Regions from separate parts of the Homo sapiens genome. Here region 1 is linked to region 2. The links are contacts of gene promoters, found by promoter capture Hi-C in blood cells and fetal thymus (Javierre and others, 2016). All regions are on one chromosome and are shown on one strand. Each heading gives the region's core, a stretch centred on a gene start or on the middle of the fragment in contact. The rest is flanking DNA. Distances are from core to core; before and after follow the strand shown.

Region 1 (2,700 bases), core at 136-2,635, 430 kb after region 2:
GCTCTAGGAAATTTTAAAGGGTAGCAGTGATACAGTTAGACCAATAGAGGGTACTGTATCGCTATATCGCTAACTGTGCTAGACCCAAATTTAGCTCTTTTGGGCCTTTTCTCTTTGCTGCTTTGTGGATCTGGAGGTCAAGAGGTGATATCATTTTAGGTTTTAAGGCAGTTTACTCTAAGGAGAAATTGGCCTTTGTCTTTGGCAGCCCCCCTCTCCGCCCATGTTGTCTTGATTAGGGTCTGATTTGTCATCTTGCAGGCTGTTTTGCTTTTAAAGTTTAAAGCGTTTAGATCTGTCGTCAAAATTGCCCTAAACCTGAATGAGGAAAAATTCAGAATTTTAAAAATGCTCAATAGTCAGGGTAGTTTCATTTTTCAAGGTTAACATTTTGCTTTCACATGTTCAAAAAAAAAAAAATGAGTACTATTTATTTGATTGAATTTAGGATGCAAGGAGAACTACCTTCTATAGCCACTAGGACTGATACACATTTTTTTCCTTGATATTTTGACCAATTTGCCATCTGCCATTTATTCTTCTCTCTCAAGATCAGTACTCTTTTGGATTTTCTCTCTCTCTTGTACATACCCAGTTGTCTCTGAGTTTCACCAGAACTCTCCCTTTGAGAGCAAAGGCAAGAAAGCTCTTTTGTCATACATGTTACCTAGTAAATGTTGGCTGATCATGGTTTTAGCACTTCTGTTGACTTTTTAATCATCCGATTACTATTTGAAATAAATAGTAAAATACTCTTAATCTTCTAGTTTAAATATATGCAAAATAGTTACATTTGGATTGATATTTGCTGAGGGGAAGGAATGAGACACGGATGCTGGCTTCACACAGCTCTTTTCTTTTTAAGAGTGACGAAGGACTTTTCCAGAAGCCTTCAGCAAACTTAACCTTGCGTTTCATTGACCAAAACTGGGTTACATTCCCTTTCCTAAATTAGTTACTGGTAAAGATGAGTGGAATTATTCTTAGCCAACCAGACCTATGCCTTGGCCTGAGGATATGGTTGGCTTCCCCAAAACACAAGGCTGCATGGGAGAGGAGTGGATAGAAGGATAGAAAATCTGTTAGGGAGGAAGAAAGAGAAAATGGATGCTGGGAGGGGGTCAACCAAAAGAATTGTCTGTGCTTACTATCCACAGTATTCTAGCAACTGAGGGACTTAAAAAAAATTTTTTTTTTTTGAGAGAGAATCTCACTCTATTTCCCAGGCTGGAGTGCAACCTCTGCCTCCTGGGTTCAGGTGATTGTGATGCCTCAGCCTCTCAAGTAGCTGAAGTAGCTGGGATTACAGGTGTGCACCACATGCCCAGCTAATTTTTTTTTTTTTTTTTTTTTTTGAGACAGAGTCTCACTCTGTCACCTAGGCTGGAGCACAGTGGCACAATCTCTGCTCACTGCAACTTCCACCTCCCAGGTTCAAGTGATTTTCCTGCCTCATGCCTCCCAAGTAGCTGGGATTACAGATGTGTGTCACCGTGCCTGGCTAATTTTTGTATTCTTAGTAGAGACAGGGTTTCACCATGTTGGACACGCTGGTCTTGAACTCCCTACCTCAGGTGATCCGCCTGCCTCGGCCTCCCAAAGTGCTGGGATTATAGGCATGAGCCCCTGTGCCCAGCCAGTTGAGGGACTTTATAATGTAAACCTGACTTTTGTTATGCAGTTACTTTCTCTGGCACTTGCTTTTTCTTTTGCTTTGTCAGAGTCCTTGGGGATGGGCATGGGAGTTGATAGAGGTGCCAAGAAAGAGAAGTATGGCTATTGATCCTGGATTAATAACAGTGGGGTTGGTGTCTTGATGGGTGGGAGATCTGGGACACAAAATTCATTTTTGTTGTGTGGTTCAGGTGGAACCTGATGATTATGCAGACATACAGAAGCATAAAGACAGTGTCAAATCTGATTTGTCAAAATTGAGATAGTAAAGTGTTTTTTAAATGCTTATTTTATTTTATTTCTTAAAATTTATTTTGAGACAGGGTCTCACTTTGTTGCCCAGGCTGGAGTTCAGTGGCTCAATCATAGATCACTGCAGTCTTAACTCAGCCTCCCAAGTAGCTCAAACCACAGGTGCTTGCCACCATGCCCAGCTAATTTTTAAAAATTGTTTTTGATAGAGACGGAGTCTTTCTGTGTTGCCCAGGCCAGTCTCAAACTCCTGGGCCTGAGCAGTCCTCCCACCTTGGCCTCCCAATGTACTGGGATTACAGGTGTGAGCCACCATGCCCACGCTAAAAATTCTTTTTAAAGTGCTTTGTTTCATTCTTTCGAAGGCTCATCTGAAAGAAACTAGCTGTTGTTAAAGGATAAAATAGAAGAATATGTAGAAGAAGAGAAAGTAGTAACCAGAGGGGAACATTGTATGAGATCTTAGAGTAACTGAGCTGGAAGGGACCTCAAGAAAGTCCTCTTCCATTAAGTGGGTAAATATACTAAATCATTTAATCTTTTAATTAAGTTTTGTTAAGTGTCAGTATTATTATGTGCCAAATACTGGTAATACAAATTAAATATAATTCAGTCTATTGGAGTAGACATATAAATGACTACAACAATATTAATATAACAGAGGTACGGAGAAGGGCCTCTGAGCATATAATGACACAGATTAACTCTGAGTAGAGAGGTCAGAGAAGAGTACAGTTGAGCAGAATCCAGTGGGATGAGTTCACCAGGTGGCTA
Region 2 (2,742 bases), core at 183-2,682:
ATCACCGTGTTCCCTTCCTCATGTAGTAAGTATCACAGGATGATTTTCTCCATTATTATTATTATTATTATTATTTGAGACAGGGTCTCACTCTGTCACCCAGGCTGGAGTACAGTGGCATGATCATAGCTCACTGTAGCCTCAACCTCCCCGGCTACCTCAGCCTGCCGAGTAGCTGGGATTACAGACACACTCCACCATGCCAGCCTGATTTTTGTATTTTTTGTAGAGATGGGGTTTCACCATGTTGGCCAGGCTGGTCTTCAACTCCTGGACTCAAGTGATCTGCCCGCCTGGGCCTCCCAAAGTGCTGGGATTCCAGGAGTGAGCCACTGCGCCCAGGTGATTTCCTCCATTATTATAGTGAAGTACACCATTGAAGTACACCATAGATCATCTCATATATGACATTCATCTCTTGATCTTTGTATCCCACCTTGACTCAGTGATGGCTCATGCTTATCTTCAGCCCTGTGTTCTAGCATCTATATGGCCTGGCACACAGTAGGCACTCAACAAACAAATTTAATGGGTAACAAATGCATAAAGCAGAGCTAGGGCTTCGTGGGAACTACCTCATTCAGTTCACCTCCTTCGAGAAGGTAGCATATTTCTCCCCCTTTTATAGTTGGGGAAACTGAGACTCAAGAGATGCAAAGCCTGGGCCCACGTCAGGGTGGAAAGAGCAGCTGCTTTTGATCTCTTTCCACCCCGCACTGCCTCTCTGTCCCTTCTTCCATTCCTGGGACTTACTCTTGAGAGAGGCCCCAGGACCTAGGGAGATCCCCTCGAGTTGCAACAGCACGTCCCCGACGCCGCGCTGGCCGCGCTCCAGGATCTCTCCGGCACCGGGACCGATGCAGGGGCCACGGGGAGCGGTGGTGTCCAGGGCCCGGTCGGAAGTCAGCAAGTCCAGCTTCAGCGCGTTTCCCTCGAGGCGCCCTTGAGCTGTGGGGCGGAGCCGGGCGGAGTCCGGGGCTCAGAGGTGGAGCCAGGGCCGACCCCTGAGCCTCGCACCACCGCCAAGCCCCCGGACTCACCCGAGGTCGGCCGCCTGTAGTTGTCAGGACAGAGCGTCGGGTCTGGGGGGATGGGCCCCGAGATGCGGGACGGGCCCTCGCACATGCCGCCGGCGCCGCCCAGCAACGGTGCCCCGAGGCCTGCAGGGCTGTTTACCTCCCTCCCCGGGCCCCCTTCCCCAACCCCGGGCCCCCTCCCTCGCCCGGCACCCTGACCCTGGCGTGCCCGCCACTCCCGGGCCCCTGCCGGTCCCCGCCTGGGCCCCGGCCTCGCTCGCCACCTCCGCGACCTCTGCTCCCAGCCCACTTCTCGGTCCCGCTCGCGGCCTCTCCCCCGCGGCACTCGGGCAGGGGCTCACTCGAGAGGTTTTGCCGCCAGCCGCTGCCACCCGACGGGACTTGTTGTTGCCGGGCAACCGTGGCTTCCGTCCCCGGGGTCAGGGCCCACTGACCCCGGCGCAAAGCGTCCTGGGGCTTGTAGTTTCGGCCGAGGGTGGGCTCCGCGGTCGCCGGTTTCTCTTCCCAGCTCTGCCCTCGCTTGCTGGCCGGTCTCCGGGGTCAGCGCGGGGCCACCATCCAGCCCCTTGGGGCCCGCCCCAAGCAGCTGTCGAGGACGCACTCAGCCTGCGCAGCCATGGCCTCGGCAGGGGCGGAGAGGCGGCCGGGGGTCCAGGAGGCGACGGTCGTGGGGCAGGGACAGCTCACGGAGGAGCCCGGCAGCGCTCAGACCTCCGAGGTGACCGTCAGGCTGTTTAACCTTCAAACACAGGGCCGCAGCGCTCTGAGAGGTGGAACTGAGCGCCCCGACCCGCTAACTGCCAGGCTGGGCCCTCCAGGCGGGGAGGGGCACAGGCTGGTGTCCTTATTCCCGTTTCGGTGTCTAACGTTAGGTGTTCAGTGACGGATCCCTATGTCCTTTGCCCGGCCATGGTGACCGATGGCCTGTGTGTCATCTCTAGTGTCCAGTGGCGGGAGACCAGTTCCTGGTGCCTGCCCATGAGGCCCGCGGAACCCAGAGTGAAGACCAGCGCCCAGCAGGCGCAGCTTCGGAGTCGGAGCTCCAGGAGGAAGGACCCAAGCTGGGGGAGGAGCGGCCCAAGCCGCATGCCGGGGCGCTAGAGGAGAGAGGCCCCAGGCCCGTGGTCTCCATTGTGAGGCCCCGTCATGGTCCAAAGAGAAAGCCTGTCAAGTGAGGGGGCTCTCGGGGGGAAGGAGCTGCAGCCCCGGGGTTGGGGCACACACCACAGTAGGATTCCTAAATCCTGCACTCCTGCAGGGAGGATTCTCGTCCCCAGCCACTACCATCACTCTCCTCCCGTTCCTCAAGAGCCCCCGTGTAGGGAGCAGCAGGAGAGTGGGAGCTTCAGGGCTTGTAGGGGCCTGGGCTCACTGGCCTCTAAGCCTCTTGGGCCTGGGGTCTCATTGACCAGGAACGGGACAGGCGTCGAGCCCTGGGGCTGTGGGCAGGCTGGGCTATTCCCTGGGCCAGGGAATGGGAGCCAGGGCTGGAGCCTGGCTCAAGTCTCTTGTCCCTGGCTCAGGTCTCTCAGCCTCCCGGGCCTTCGTGCCCATCTTAAGGCTGAAGCTGAGCTGCCACCCAAGCTGCCGCTGCAGGAGGAGGAGCCAGAGGACAGCCAGAGTGAGCCCTCACCATCTGCCAAACAGCACAAAAAAGCCAAGAAGCGCAAGAGCCTGGGGGCTCCCGTGCTCCACGCTGTGGCCA

The links. The method cuts DNA at HindIII sites, captures the fragments that hold promoters and counts their contacts. A CHiCAGO score of 5 or more calls a contact.
Region 1: a contact is called between a fragment that was not itself captured here and the fragment with the promoter of ENKD1 in region 2, in 1 of 17 cell types (neutrophils). The highest score is 5.8, in neutrophils.

Annotation. Positions count from the first base shown.
Region 1 is chr16:68,094,016-68,096,715 of GRCh38, forward strand. The region is part of intron 1 of NFATC3 (nuclear factor of activated T cells 3); the gene reads left to right. Among named protein-coding and RNA genes, the nearest start is that of NFATC3, 10 kb to the left of the region's middle. RefSeq lists a silencer at 1-65. The HindIII fragment of the contact is 6,898 bases long and covers 1-2,700 here.
Region 2 is chr16:67,665,318-67,668,059 of GRCh38, forward strand. It overlaps ENKD1 (enkurin domain containing 1), which reads right to left and starts at 1,433. Exons shown (of 7, transcript NM_032140.3): 1 at 1,041-1,433; 2 at 754-948. The coding sequence starts at 1,125. C16orf86 (chromosome 16 open reading frame 86) reads left to right here and starts at 1,497. Exons shown (of 4, transcript NM_001012984.3): 1 at 1,497-1,755; 2 at 1,979-2,208; 3 at 2,561-2,742. The coding sequence starts at 1,654. RefSeq lists silencers at 1,005-1,274, 1,615-1,664, 1,685-1,734, 1,815-1,864. The HindIII fragment of the contact is 12,585 bases long and covers 1-2,742 here.